Regions from separate parts of the Homo sapiens genome. Here region 2 is linked to region 1. Evidence: promoter capture Hi-C in 16 types of primary human blood cells and fetal thymus (Javierre and others, 2016). All regions are on one chromosome and are shown on one strand. Each heading gives the region's core, a stretch centred on a gene start or on the middle of the fragment in contact. The rest is flanking DNA. Distances are from core to core; before and after follow the strand shown. Region 1 holds the start of CNR1 (cannabinoid receptor 1). Region 2 overlaps RNGTT (RNA guanylyltransferase and 5'-phosphatase).

Region 1 (7,566 bases), core at 2,495-4,994:
TTCTCTGAGGATAAGATTAGGAAAGAACTGGAGATTCAGGGAAGAAAACATGAAGTTAAAATTTTGGCAACACAAAGTATATAAACTGATTTTGATTTCCTCTTATTCTTTGACTTCTCTACCAGTCTTCAGTATATAAGAGAAAAATCAGCAAAGCAGGCTGCCTCTCAAAATACAGATATGCAGTATGTAAACCTGGCCCTAGCACAGTGTTTCAAACAATGTTGGGTCCACATTGTTTTAGAGCCAACAGCAGAATTATAAATAATTTAAACCCAAAGCCTGGTTTCACTCTAACTATTTGTCAGTTCAATTAGAAAATGATAAATACAAAAATAGAAGAAACAGACTTACACTGGTGGAGGCATGGCATCCTTTTCAGCAGGGAATGAAAGCTCTCATCTATGTTCTTTATGCAACTGAGCTAACATGGAATTTGGTAAGTAAGATGGAGCCTGTCCTTTAGGTTACTGCCTGTTATCATGCTTTAATTGCTTTAATTAGCATTTAATTCACTGTATATTCTTAGATTAGACTGGATTAACTTTATAACATAGATCAATTCAGACTTCTCCAAAATATTTCCTGGAATAAAAGAAGCAATAACTTTCACCCAGAATTCTTATAAATTCAAGAAGCTATAACCAAATCTTTCATTTTGCTAGTTATGTGTCATTAGGTATTTTCCAATTCAATTTGTTACTCTTGTTTTTGCAGCATTCCTGGATAGCTAGTTATGGGAAATAATCCCTTATTTGGCCAACTGTTTTCTGGTAAGAAACATTTGGTAAGCGTGGTGAACTATAAACTGCTATTAGAAGTTCCATCTCATAATAGTTTATTCTTACATAGCAAAGTATTTGATTTCTAATTCCAAACACTAATATGCAAGACAACCAAGAAGCCTGTCTAAATTTCCCCGTGGTTAATGTTAATTTTGAGTCAAAGCAAAGAACAGTGTTATACGACTGTTTTGAAACAGTTTCTCAGGCTTTGCCTTAGTAATTAATAAGCTGACACTGCATACTAAACACTTATCAACACAATCAATGGGGCTGCTTCCTTCTTGGGAAAATAGGTAAACCGAATCAAAGAGTTTTCTTTTGGAAGAGGCTGAAATATGCCACAAATACAGTGGTTCTTTTTGAGAATTTCATTCCCAGCAGTTTCATCTTGGTAACATTTAACAATTTCACTATTTTACCATTTTGAAATGCCAAAAAGAACACACTGATCCTGCAGCTAGGCTTATTAGAGAAGAGCAATCTCACAGGCAAGACAGAGAGGAACATGGTCCACTGGGAAATGGGTAACAGAAAAAGACAGAAAACAGTGGATAACAAACAAAGCCAAGCACTACTTCAATGTGAGACCTGGTGTTCATCAGAATTTAAAACTTTACACACTAAATAATAATCACTTATGGCTTATTTAAGGTTCTAGTCATAACATTCTTTTTACATACATATATTAATGTTATTAAAATTCAGGGGCATGAATATCTAATTTGCTTTCCTAACAACGAGTATGCAAGCACAGTAATTTTATTTGTGAAAGGCCAGAATTGGGTATTTCCACCTTGTGGCATCATTGTACCCCCATGGACACTGAGAAACACAATGAGACCTCTCCCCATCAGACACTTGATACATACCTCAGCCAAGAGCGCTCCTCGCCTGGAGTGGGAGACATCTTTGAAACAAAAAGAGTCGGTTTACAGTAAGTTCTCCTGATAAGCTAAAATGGATTAGTTTTTTAAAACCATGTCCCACATCAAGTCTCTTGCCCCACTATGGTAACTGCCATTGTGCCTACAAATAAGTGCCTGTAGTATGCAATGTTTAAAATTCTGGAGGTGCATGTCTTCTGCTCATGTATGGATATAATCTGAAAGTAATTTGTCTCACTTAAGAAACTATAAATGGCCTTTTATTTTTATAAAATTGCTCTTAACTGAGTTAGAGAGCGGGGGAGGGGGAGGAGTACCAGGGAAAAAAAGGACAGAGAAAAATCAATTAGTGTATCTTCCCTTGCAAACTGTCAGTAGGGTAGGATTAGAAAAGCAACACTTTAAATCACATAAAGTCCTATGGGAACCTTAAAGGTTGGTTGCTCTGAGCTTCTCAATATTCTGCAAAATAGATTGATGTCAGTGGTGACCCCACTAATACTCAGTGTCCGCTAAGCTTCCTCTAAGAAATTGCATTTCCCCCATTGTTCAAAAGATATTAACTTGGTAATAAAAATGAGGAGAAGTTATGGGACCCACAGAGATATCTTTCAACACCTTTAAAACCAGTAAATCTGTTCTAATCTCTTATTGGATTACATGCCCGAGGAGGCTTACTATATCAGGAAATCAACAACAAAGGCAAGAATAGCACTTATTTGGAGGAAAATAAAAAAAGATGGGAGGCAAAATGATTAATACGTTACTAAACATTTCTTTTGTTTTTTTATCTGTTCAATTTTAAATATCTGAGAGACAATCTATTAAAATCAGAAACATGCATGTTGCTTTTAAACTTCCAAATGACCAAATGACAGTTTCTCATGTCTATTACAGCAAACATATTTTTATTTGAGAGGTGATCCGTTTATGATTTGTAAGCCTTAACAAGAAATGTCTTTTAAAAATGCAACATTAACTTTAGTCATCTAACAGCTAGTTCTGAGTTAAACGGTTCCATCAACATTCAATTTTAGGTATTAGTTACATGGACATTTGTTTTTCCTCAAAGAGAAGTGGTTCCTGTAGCTTTTTATCAAAAGTTTATTATTTGACATACATCTCTTTATATGACATTTACTATTTTACATTAGTCAGTTTCTAGGCTTGCAGCAGAGATCGATGTATTTCCCTGGGAAGACTTAGCTGCTAACATGGTTTATAGGCATTCAGCACCAACTCAAGCGCCCGTTTTTCAAACATGCACAATTACCCATTTTCTACAAACAGACATCAGTGCATACAGAGCCAGGTGCACACACATTCAATAAATAGTAAATGGTAGAAATCTCCAGAAGTAGAACAGATCACAGTTAACAGGCTGGGGCCATACAGCTAAGTAAACACCGACGCACGATTCGCTCACACGGAATAAGAACTCCACGAAGGACACTTGGGGACCACACTGGTCGTACCCGAGGGGGCGGGAGGCGGAAAAAGTATTTCCAAACGCAACTCTGCCAGGTCTTACCCTTCGCATCCCCTGGTCCTCGGGACAGAAGCTCCCTTGGCACCTCTCGCCCAGCTCAGGGGCTGGTTGTCCGCTAGAACGAAATATCCCCCACTGACTACGGAGAGCTCTGCAGGGAGCCGAGGCCCCCGCCCGGGCCAAGGGAAGGCGCTGGCGCCGCGGGAGACAAGAAGAGGCGGAGGCGGAAAAGAAGTGGAGAAGGAAGGGGTGGCAGAGGGAGTAGCGTGCGGGAGGCGGCGCCGGCGCCGGGCTGCTGGCGAGGCGGGGTGGGGTGGAGTGGGGTGTGCCTCCGGCGGGCGGTCAGCAAGTCAGTCCGTCCGAGCGCCGGCGTCCCGGTCTCCAGCGCCCGCCCGCGACAGCGACCGGGACTGGCGCCCCGCTGCTCCGACCGCCGGCGAGCCTCGCCCCTTCCCAGGCTCTTCACTGGGTCCTCCCGCGAGCCCCGCCTGGCCCGGCGTGGGGCCGCCCGTCTCCGCCAGCCCGGGCGCCCGTCGCCTCGTCCCGCTCGCGCAGTCCCTGCCGCTCCCTCCGCTCGCGCTGTCTCTGGCTCCCTCTCGCTCCAGTCCCATTTATGAAGCGCGGTCCCATCACGTGTTAATGAGCCTTTGTCCTGCCCTGGCAGCGGCGGCGGCACAGACCCCGCCGAGGGAACTGCGCGGGGAGGGACCTGAGCGCAGCGCCCGTAGCCCCAAACTTTGCTTGGGGCGGGGGACCCGCCGCGGCGCCAGCCCTGGGGCCAGAGGGGACAAGCCTCTTCGGCCCGCGTCACCTACTTCTCCTCTTCCTCCTCCTCCTCCGCCGCCGCGCTCCCGGAGGCCCCCGCTGCCATGACCTCGCTGTGCTCCCGGATACCCTCACACCCTGACCAGGCCAAGAAGGGGCTGGTGCATGCGCCGCCCACGACCTCGGGGCCATTAATCACACGCTCCCGGGCAGCGCGCATCGCCAACACCTTCCGCGGGGGTCACGTCTGGGGCAGCGGGCTGAGCCGGAAGGGGAAGGGGAGCGGGAGCCCAGAGGCCGAGGCGCGCCGGGCCCGGGGGTGCGGTCTCGCGCCCCCTCCCTCCGCGCAAGGCCGCTCCCGTGGCAGGCGGCAGCGAGCTGGGCCCGGGGCCGGGCTGAGCTTTGGGACCGCGCTGCGCAGCCCCCGAGCCGTTCGCTACCTGGCTGCGGTCGCGCGGCCACCTGTCCTCCGCCCTCGGGGCGCCGCCCAGCTTCGCGCCAGGCGCCTTCTCCAGCGCCCGCCGCCCTTTCCCGGCGAGACCACTCGGGCGCGCCCCGCCCGCCGGTCCCCGATGCAAACAGTTGGGCTCCGTAGGCGGCTGGCTCCGCGCCTCCCGGCCCGGCGCGCCCCCTCCCCGGCCACCCGGGGCCCCGCTCCTCGCACCTTTTCGCTGGAGGAGGACGCCCCACTCCAGGGCCGGACTGGGGGCTCTGGGACTCGGGGGCGGCAGCGGCGGGCGCCTGGGGAGCCGCGGTGTGCTCAGCAGCCGCGGCAGGAATTAGGGGACATGCTCGTTAATTGTTTCCACTATCAGCCGCCGTCTGCCTCCTGTGTGCACGGATCAAACCTTAATTGGTCTTTACATTTATCATGGTGAATTGCGAACCTCCAAACAAGCCTGGGCCGCCGCTTCTGCCGAGGAGGCGCTCCCCTCCCCTCCGCCCCCGGGGCCCTGCAGGGTGTGCGGCGGCGGTCGTGGTTATTTAGACATCTTTATCTCTCGTGAGTTGGATCGGGAGAGGATCGCACGGTTTCCACCTGACGGAGCCACGTCACGTCGGCCACAAGGGCCCCGTGCTGGGCGCTGGGTTCGGTTCCCGGCCGTCCTCTTGTGGCCGCCTTGGCGTTCATTTTATGACACCTTGCCGGTGTTCCCAGACATCATCCCGCACCGCTCCGTTTTACCGACCTCCAGGTCTTCCCGCCCCTGATCAGACCCCAACAGCAACCGTACTATATCTGGACCCTATATTTGAACTACGTGGTGAGAATCTGTGAAAGCGAGCCTCTCAGGGAAAGAAGGAAGATTGTTGAGTTCAAGGTCCTGGAGGAGGGAAGGCTGTAAAACCGTTTTGGAAACGTCAGGCCAAATCGTACAAAGGCTTCCCGCAGAGCACTAGTGCAGTTTTTGAAAATCCCCCTAGACTGCTTTAGACTAGAAGTATTTCCGTCAAGCAAATGACCATTTGACTCCATTGAGAGAGAGAGTCCACCGCTGAAATGATTAAGTCCTACTAGGTGGGTGGTTAGAAAAGGTTATCAATAAAGTTCTGATGGACCCATCGATAGATGGAAGAATGACTGGGAGATAGATAGTAGATGTGGGATTAGTGCTGAGCCTTAACCCTGCTGCTTGGGGAAGGCTCTACTCACAGGCATTTTTAGCCCACCTCCATGGCAGAGACAGCTCCAGCGCAAGATTCAAAGGGAGGAGGCTTCAACATCTGTTGCTTTTTTCTTTTAGGGGTCGTGGTTGTTAGATTTTCCCTTCACCTCACACCCCTGGCAGTAGGAAATATTTGCAAAAATTTTCTCTCCTTATGACCTCGCAGACTCTGATTTCCCAAGAGGCCAGATGACAATAACTTCAAAGTCTCTCCTCCACCTGGCAGCTCAGTTTCAAATGACTGCTAGTAATTAAAAGAAAGGATCAAGGCAGCGCTTCCTCTGACTGTGATAAGGACATCTTCAGTCACAAGAAACCTGGGGGAGCTGGACTCCTAGAATGCTTTCAGGCCACAGGATTTCACTTGGGTGCTACCACCCTCCCCTGTAGCTGGAGGGCGTGAGCTGTTGGAGTGGCAGAGCTGTTCAACATCACTCAGCTAAACAACACTGACACACCCTGGTGGTGCTCCTTCTATAAGGAGCACTTTCCCACATGTTGATCTATACCTTCGTGGTGGTCAGCATCAACCTGTGAAAGGTATTCCATGGAAATCTTGTATCTCAACTCAGCCACACCAGCTTTTGCTTTTTCATAAAGAGGAACAATCTGATTATTGTGTCTCTAAGTCATCCCAAATATCTTCTGATTGACGTTGGGTTTCTTCACTGAATTCTATGAAATTCCAAGCAGAAACCTAAGATCGTTGATGGGCCAGTGTGACCTGTGGCCAGAGCCAATCACTCGGAATCTCATCTAGTAGTGACTCCAGCCGAGATAACTGTTTAGTTTGTTATTCTGTTGTTCAGGGTTGGGGGAAACCTGGAGCCTGACAGCTGAATTGTACTGACTTTCCATTTAGAGCTCAAGGATAATAATCAGTAATGGAGTCAAAATTTGACTTATGACCTGGCATTTTATCACCACAAGTGAATGCTGTGTCAAAAACAAGAGAGTTATGTTCCTTGGCAAATACTGTTCTTGTGGGCCTTCATGTGCATCTTTAAATTTTCGTCAAGGTATTAGACTGACAGACAGGAGAGCTGCTGTACTTTTTCCTTGGATTGGGGCAACTGGAAGAGGGGCAGAGATCAGACAGCAGATGGTGCGAGGGAAAGATGCTCTTCGGTACCTTGGAGTTCACATTTTGCAAGGATCACCTTTATGTGGGAGGAAATGATTTAGTTTCCACATGTGGTTGGCCATCCACTGTACTCCTGAGACAGTCAGCAAGAATGACAAATGCAAGCTGTCAGCCTCCCTATTAGGAACATTATGTTGAGAGCATTCATAAATTTAACATGAAGTGCTGAATGGCTCTTGGTCACCACAAACCCAGGTTGAATTTGAATCCATGACCTTCTGAGGAAATGCCCCGGCAGCCCCTGAACAGGCTTCAGTAGTCCCTTCAGTGCTAGGCTGCCTGGTTTTTCAGATCCTTATCCTTTTAAAATTAGAACAGGGCTATGATGAGCCAATTTACTGCCGTTCTGTGTAATTTAGGTTATTCACTCAGTGAAATGTAGAGGATGAGAGCACAGTTAAGGCTGCATATTTCAACTTCAAAGAAAGATCTCAATTTATGCCTGCCAAAGTGTTAAGAGTTCTACTGGCCATAGAGCATCAAGGAAACATGTCTGCTTTGGTGAGATAGCTGTGGATCCAAAAGGAGCTCTACTTCAAGATGTTTTTGGTTTTATTTTATTTTTTTTAACTTGCCATGGTTTGTCGTGCTTCTCTCCCACTCCCCAAATGGGTGGTCTGTTGGGGATGATGAGTCATGATTTCCTGGTTTGGAAAGCGACATCACTCTCTTTTAGAGTTTTGGGGGTTCGGTCCAAGTTTGGTCCTCACGTTTTCTTTGGTATTTTCAGTGTGATGCTCACACTACAGGGCTGGAACGCTCACTGATTAAGGACATTTTAGGAATGATATTATGACTACACGATTTCATTCTAATTCGGAGCATTGCTTTA
Region 2 (7,566 bases), core at 1,865-4,364, 610 kb after region 1:
TGTAAAACCACAGAAGTCTTAGAAGAAAACATAAGGCTCTGCGATCTTAGATTTGGCAGTAGATTTTTAGTTTTGACACCAAAAGCATAAGCAACAAAAGAAAAACTACATAGTTTGGGCTTAATCAAAATTAAAAACCTTTGTGCATGACAGAACATTATCAAGAAAGTGAAAAGACAACCTACAGAATGGGAGAAAATGTTTGCAAATTATACATCTGATATAAACCTGGATATGTATCTATTTATATCCAGAATATATTGTTAAAATGGATACAACTTAACAACAAAAAAACCCAAATTTAAAAGTCAAAAGACTTGAATAAACATTTCTCCAAGGAAGATATACAAATGGCCAATAAGCACATGAAAAGATGTTCACTATCATTAATCATTAAACAAATGCAATCAAAATCAAATGGAGATACCACTTCATACTAACTAGGGTGACTATAATTTAGAAAAAAAAACACAGAAACTAACAAGTGTTGGTGAGAATGTGGATAAATCAGAACATGCACATTGCTGATAGAAATGTGAAATGGTGCAGCCACTATAGATAAAAGGTTAACAGTACCTCAAAAAGCCAAACACAGAATTACCACATGACCCGGAAGGTCCATTTCTAGGTACACACTCCAAAAACCTGAAAACAGCTACTCAAACAGACACTTGTATGTCAATGTTCATTGAAGCATTCTTCACAAAAATTAAAAGGTAAAGACAATACAAGTCTCCATCAACAGGTGAGTAGATAAACAAAAGGTTGTATATACATATATTATCCAAATATAAAAAGGAATGAAGTTTTGATACGTGCTGCCAAACGGATGAACCTCAAAAGCATTATGCTAAGCGAAATAAGCCAGACACAAAAGGAAAATATTGTATGATTCCACTTACATGAAATATTTAAAATAGAAAAAAATCATGGTGACCGAAAGTAGATTAGAGGTCACCCAGGGCTACAGTATGGAAGAAAATGGAAGTTACTGCTTAGTGGTTAAATGATTTCTGTTTGGGATGATGAAAAGGTTTTGGAAATAGACAGTGGAGGTGGTTGTACAACACTGTCCATGTAATTAGAGATTATAAAAATTATTTTAATAAACAAAAGCTTTGTAAATAATTGTGTTCTTAAGCATTATAACTTCCTAATGTATATAATATGTAAATATAAATAAATCACACTAATCAATATATTTGTATATTCACTTTATAGGTATCCTAATTGGAATGCATTTACTCAACAGAATGAAAAATTAATTGAAATTTTTTGATATGTAAAGTATATAACATTATAACACAATGTTTGATATACACAGTGAAATGATTACTATGGTAAAGCAAATTAACATTATCCATCTCCTCACAGTTACCTTGTATGTGTGTACATGTGTGTCAAGAACATCTGAAATCTACTCTCTTGGCAAACTTCCAGTATATAAAACAATATTATTAAGTACAGTCATTGTGCTGTACATTAGACCTCCAGATTTATTCAGCCTACGTAACTGCAAATTTGTGCTCTTTAACCTACATCTCCCCAACTCCCCCATCCTCAGCACTGATAACCTTCTTCCTAGTCCTGAACAGTAGCTTCTAGTTTCAACAAAACAAATCCCTTTGAATACCCACAACTGAGAGGGGGGATAAAAAGCATGCTCTCCCTCTGACCTGAGCTTGCTAATTTTTTTATATTTCTAACCACAGAAGACGGTACAGTTAGAACTGACAGAGTAATTTATATCTGTTTCAATTATAATAAGGAGGTACAGAATTAGTTTATCACCTATAATCAAAAGTTGTTATTAATGAGTTACCAACTGGGTTTGTTTCTCCCCCATTTAAAAGAGCTTATTAACCAAGTAGCTTCATAATAGGTGTTTTTTGCATTCTGTTTCTGTGTACTCAACTTTTTGAGATTCCACATGTAAGTGAAATCACACACCATTTCTCTTTCTGTGTCTGGCTGATCTTGCTTAGTACAATGCCCTCCAGCTCCATCCATGTTGTTATAAATGACAGGATCTTTTTTTCTAAGCCTGAATAATATTCTGTTGCATAAATATACCATAATTTCTTAATTCATTGACCCACTGAAGGACATTTAGGTGGTTTCCATATGCAGGCTGTTGGAAATAATGCTGTAATGAACATGGGGGCATACATTTCTCTATGAGGTACTAATTTCATTTCTTTTGGTATATACTCAGAGGAACTGCTGAGTCATATATTAGTTTTGTTTTTAATCGTTTGAGGAGCCTCCATACTGTTTTCCATAATGGTTGTACCAATTTACATTCCTACCAACAGTGGGACACCCTTACTCTCCACACCTTCACCAACTATTTTGTATGTTATCTTGTATTTTCGATAATAGCCATCTTAATATGCATGAGGTAATATCTCAATGACGTTTTAATTTTCATTTCTCTGTGACTGGTGATGTTGAGCACCTTTTCATACACCTTTTGACCTTTTTTTTTTTTTTTGAGACGGAGTTTCCCTCTCGTTGCCCAGGCTGGAGTGCAGTGGCGCAATCTCAGCTCACCGCAACCTCCGCCTCCCAGGTTCAAGTGATTCTCCTGCCTCAGCCTCCCAAGTAGCTGAGATTACAGGCATGTGCCAGCAGGCCCAGCTAATTTTGCATTTTTTTTTCTTCTTTTTTTTAGTAGAGATGGGGTTTCTCCATGTTGTTCAGGCTGGTCTCAAACTCCTGACCTCAGGTGATCTACCCACCTTGGCCTCCCAAAGTGTTGAGATTACAGGCATGAGCCACCATGCCCAGCCACCTGTTGACCACTTTCATGGCTTCTTTGGAAAAAAAAAAAAAAAAGTCTATTCAAGTCCTTGGATTATTTGTTTTTGTTTTGTTTTTTGCTACTGAGTTGTGAATTCCTTTAATATTATAGATATCCCCTTATCAGATATGTGCTTTGCAAATATTTTCTCCCAATCTGCCTTTTCATTTTGTTGATTGTTTCCTGTTGTGCAGAAGCTTTTTAGTTTCATGTAGTCCCAGTTGTGTATTATTGCTGTTGTTGGCTGAGCTTTTGATGTAACATCAAAAAGATCATTGCCAAGACCAACATCAAGGAGCTTTTCCACTATGTTTTCTTCTAGGAGTTTTACAGTTTCAAGTGTTACAGTTAGGCATTTGATCTATTTTAAGTGGATTTTTGTGTATGGTATAAGGGTCCAATTTCATTCTTTTGTATATGGATATTCAAGCTTCCCCAACATCATTTACTGAAAAGATTATCTTCTCCCCATTGTGTATTCTTGGTGCCCATGTCAAAAATTTGAACATACATGCTTGGGTTTATTTCTGGGCCCTCTATTCTGGTCCACTGGTCTATGTGTATGTTTCTATTTCAGTACTACACCATTTTAATTACTGGAGCTTAGTAATATAACTTGAAACCAGGAAGTGTGATGCTTCCAACTTTGTTCTTCTTTCTCAAAATTGCTTTGGCTTTTTCAGGGTTTTTAGTCCCCTACAAATTTTAGAATTGTTTTTCTCTAGTTCTGTAAAAAATGTCATTGGTATTTGGATAGGGATTGCACCAAATCTGTGTATCACTTTGGGTAGTATGGACATCTTAACAATGTAAATCTTCCAATTCATTAACATGGAATATCTTTCTATTTATGTGTATCATCTTCAATTTCTTCCATCTTGGTTAAATTTATTCCTAGGTATTTTATTCTTTTTGATGCTATTGTAAATGAGATTGTTTTCTTCATTCTCTTTTCAGATAGGCTGTTATCGATTGGTGTAAAGAAATGTAACTGATTTCTGTATGTTAACTTTGCATCCCACAACTTTATTGAATTAACAGGTTTTTTTGATGTAACAGTCTTTTTCTACATATAGGATCATGTCATCTGCAAACAGAGATAATTCTACTACTTGTTTTCCATTTTAGATGCCTGTTGTTTCTTTTTCTTGTCTGATTGCTCTTACTAGTAGCTCCAGTATTATGTTGAATAGAAGCACCAAGATGGGGAATCCTTGCCTTGTACCGGATTTTACAGGAAAAGCTTTTAGTTCTTCCCCATTAATTGTGATGCTAGCTGTGGCCTTTTCATAAATGGCCTTTGTGTTGAGAAAATTTTCTTCTATACCTATTTTATTGGAAGTTTTTGTCCCAAAAGATGTTGAACTTTGCCAAATGCTTTGTATGAATCTGTGGAGATGATCATGTGGTTTTAGCTTTTATTCTGTTACTGTGGTATATCATATTGATTGATCTGCATATGTTTATACCAACCTTGTAACCCAGGGATAAATCTCACTTGGGGATTTTAAATGTATTCTGAGTACAAAGTAAAAAAAGAAAAGGTATTACCTGAGTGTCTTAAAATTGATTATAGAGGAATGAACATTGTAAGCCTTGAAGGATGGGTAATATTCACTCATGCAGATTTGCAGCATGAAGTAAATATGGGCAAAAAAACAGGAGTAGAGAAATATAGGATGTGCTAAAGGAGAGGCAAGTCTCCCAATTCAGTGTGTGCATTATGGAGGGTGGGGCCATATTATAAGAAAAATACTTAGGAAGGAAAAATTGCTAAGTGTCCAATACTAGTATTTTTAAATTATCCAAGTCAAATTGCATTCTAACAAATTTTTAATTTAATTTTTAAAATTAGATATGGAGTCTTGCTATCTTGCCCAAGCTAGAATGCAGTGGCTATTCACAGGTGCAGTCACAGCACTGCAGCCTTGAACTCCTGAGTTTAAGCAATTCTCCCACCACAGCCTCCTGAGTAGCTGAGACGAAGGGTGCAATCCATTGCACCCAGCTCAAACAGATTTTTATAAATTATTTAAAACTGCAAAAATCATAATCACAGGATTGCTTACTTCAAACGGAAGTCCATACAATGACGATTCAATATAATTTAAGTTTTGCTAAGAAAGAAAAAATCATTGGAATTGATAGGAAACACCTTTTAACTGTGCCACGTGTAAGAAAATAATGCACATTATTTTCCCTCAAGTTTTGTATTGAAGCATGAGTAAGTATAAAATCAAATATATAATTTTTCAGTGGAAATTTTCTTCCATATATTTGCCCTGAGAGATTTATTTAGGTAACATACATGCTTCAGGATAATCACAAATAAATCTCTTTAGAAAGTTTTTTTGGAATGTTGAAACTGCAACATTTTCCCATTGTCAACCCATTAGTGAAGAGAATCTGATAAAATATAGTCATTTTCCTAGTAAAGCTTATTTGACAGAAAAGTCACAGGCCTTTAAGTAACAGTGGCTCATTACAGTAGTAAAGGGTCAAAAAAAGTAAGGGGAGAAAGGAGTGTCAGCAAGAGAGAATAGGCCCAAGAAAAAGAGTAAGTTTGTGTAGCTTGAAACACACTATGCACATCCCACCGCATTTGCAACCTCTGCCAAGGAAATTTCATACTTACAGGCAAATCATCCTTTAGTTCCGTTTCCTACTTGTTTATAGTAAGTGACTACAAGAACACTTAGAAACCAATATCAATCTAAGTTATTAAATCTAGAAAAGTTGAATGATGGTATAGTTTTAAAATATCTCCTAATAGGTACCTAATGATAAATTCTAAAAAGCTTTAATATGTAATTTTATTTATATAACAGATATTAAATATCATTCACATTCTCTTGCCTGGAAATCAAGACTCAATTTTGTCTAATAAGAAAACAACATGTATCAACTCTTCTGTTTTTACACAGCAATAATTCAGAAACTTAAGTAACTCCTCATCTCATTGCACATCAAATCATTCATATTAATTTGGAATACTAGACTTGATATTATTAGGAATTTCAAAGCACCTTTATGAAAATTAATGATTATAAAATTTTAGAAAATGGGGCCAGGTGCAGTGGCTCACGTCTGTAATCCCAGCACTTTGAGAAGCCAAGGCGGGCAGATCACCTGAGGTCAGGAGTTCAAGACCAGCCTGGCCAACATGATGAAACACCATCTCTACTAAAAATGCAAAAATTAGCTAGGCATGGTGGTGCATGTTTGTAGTCCCAGCCACCTGGGGGGGCCAAGGCAGGAAAATTGCTTGAACCTGAAAGGCAGAGGTTGCAGTGAGTCAAGATCACACCACTGCACGCCAGCCTGGGCAATAGGGTGAGACTCTGTCTCAAATAAATAAATTAATTAATTAATCTAGAAAATGGTATTTTAAGAATACTGTAGCTCCCAGTTATTGAATGTAGATTCAACAATGACACAGATTCTATGAGTAAAATATATTGAAATACCCATTAGAATGTAATTCTACTTCAGAAAAAATCACATCAATTTTGTGCCTACAAAACACCTAGTAAAATGCTCAAATACTTTAATAAAATAATTAAAAATACAGAATTTCAAAACTTACTACAAAAATATCTGTCTCAGGTACACTTAATTTAAAAATGAAATATCTGAGATTATGAAATAAGCTAACAATATTTATGAAAGATTATATAAATCACTACCAAATAATCCCTTTTTCATGATCCCCAAAATAATAAGAGCAAATATATTACAAATACAGAAACTGAATAAGCCTTTTAGAAATAAATATTTATGATTTATCAAACTTGAAATACAGAATCTTGCTGAACTATAAACAAGGATATAAAAACACCATTCTACATGTTCTCGTGTATAGTCAGAGTAATATAATTCAATTTACCAGCATGTATCTAGGTTAAAATAATTATCAGAGCTATAGTTAACTGATAAATACAATACTTAGTTTATAGAAATAAATCTGATTGTATGAGGTGAGCTGTCAAAAAAAAACTGGGGATATGTTAGGTGTAAACGTAATTACCAATATAACCCAAGATATCCATTGCCATTGTAAAGTCAAAAACATAATAAATGTAAACGTCAGGCAGCAAAATAAGATGCTTAAGAAAGTGTTGACCAGATGAGAACAGAACCTGGCTTAGAGGTAGAAGATGGCCATATGCCAAAGAGAAGTCTGTAAAACTAAGGTGGACAGGAAGCTAACTGGAGGTATACATGATATATATTTGTGGTGTAAAGCACTGGTTCTCAACTAGGGGAGATTTTGCCTCCAAGGGATATTTGGCAATGCGTGGAGACATTTTTGGTTGAACAAGAGGTGGGGAGGGGGTGCTACTGCCATCTAGTGGTTAAAGGCTAGATATGCTACTAAACATCCTACAAAGCACAGGGCAGCTGCCCACAACAAAGAATTCTAGCCCAAAATGTCAATGGTGCCAAGGCTGAGAAAACCTGATGTAAATGAAGCTAGCATTAGTAACGGCAAAGGAGCAACGTATTTAGTCCCTCTTTGCCTCTACTAACGTAATTATTTTAAGCAAGTTCAAAGTGGGCTTTATCTATCTCATTTGTAAAAATGCAATAATAGCATTTTGCTTGCCTAAAACAGGATATCTAGACCAGAGATATCTAAAAACACCTTGCAGGCTTATGTTATTCTATTATTTCCACTAGTAAAATGTGAGTAGTTATCACCAGGTTCTACAGTAAAACCTGAGACATAATGCCTTCTTCACAAAGATCACATCTGAAGCTAA

The links. Contacts are between HindIII fragments. The CHiCAGO score rates a contact against its expected background, and 5 or more counts as called.
Region 2: a fragment that was not itself captured here is called in contact with the fragment with the promoter of CNR1 in region 1 in 2 of 17 cell types (naive B cells and total B cells); the score reaches 7.3 in naive B cells.

Annotation. Positions count from the first base shown.
Region 1 is chr6:88,162,603-88,170,168 of GRCh38, forward strand. It overlaps CNR1 (cannabinoid receptor 1), which reads right to left and starts at 3,745. Exons shown (of 2, transcript NM_016083.6): 1 at 3,201-3,745. RefSeq lists silencers at 3,422-4,101, 4,162-4,601, 4,672-4,871. The HindIII fragment of the contact is 6,129 bases long and covers 2,185-7,566 here.
Region 2 is chr6:88,773,843-88,781,408 of GRCh38, forward strand. All of the region lies in intron 12 of RNGTT (RNA guanylyltransferase and 5'-phosphatase), which reads right to left. Among named protein-coding and RNA genes, the nearest start is that of RNGTT, 190 kb to the right of the region's middle. The HindIII fragment of the contact is 233 bases long and covers 2,999-3,231 here.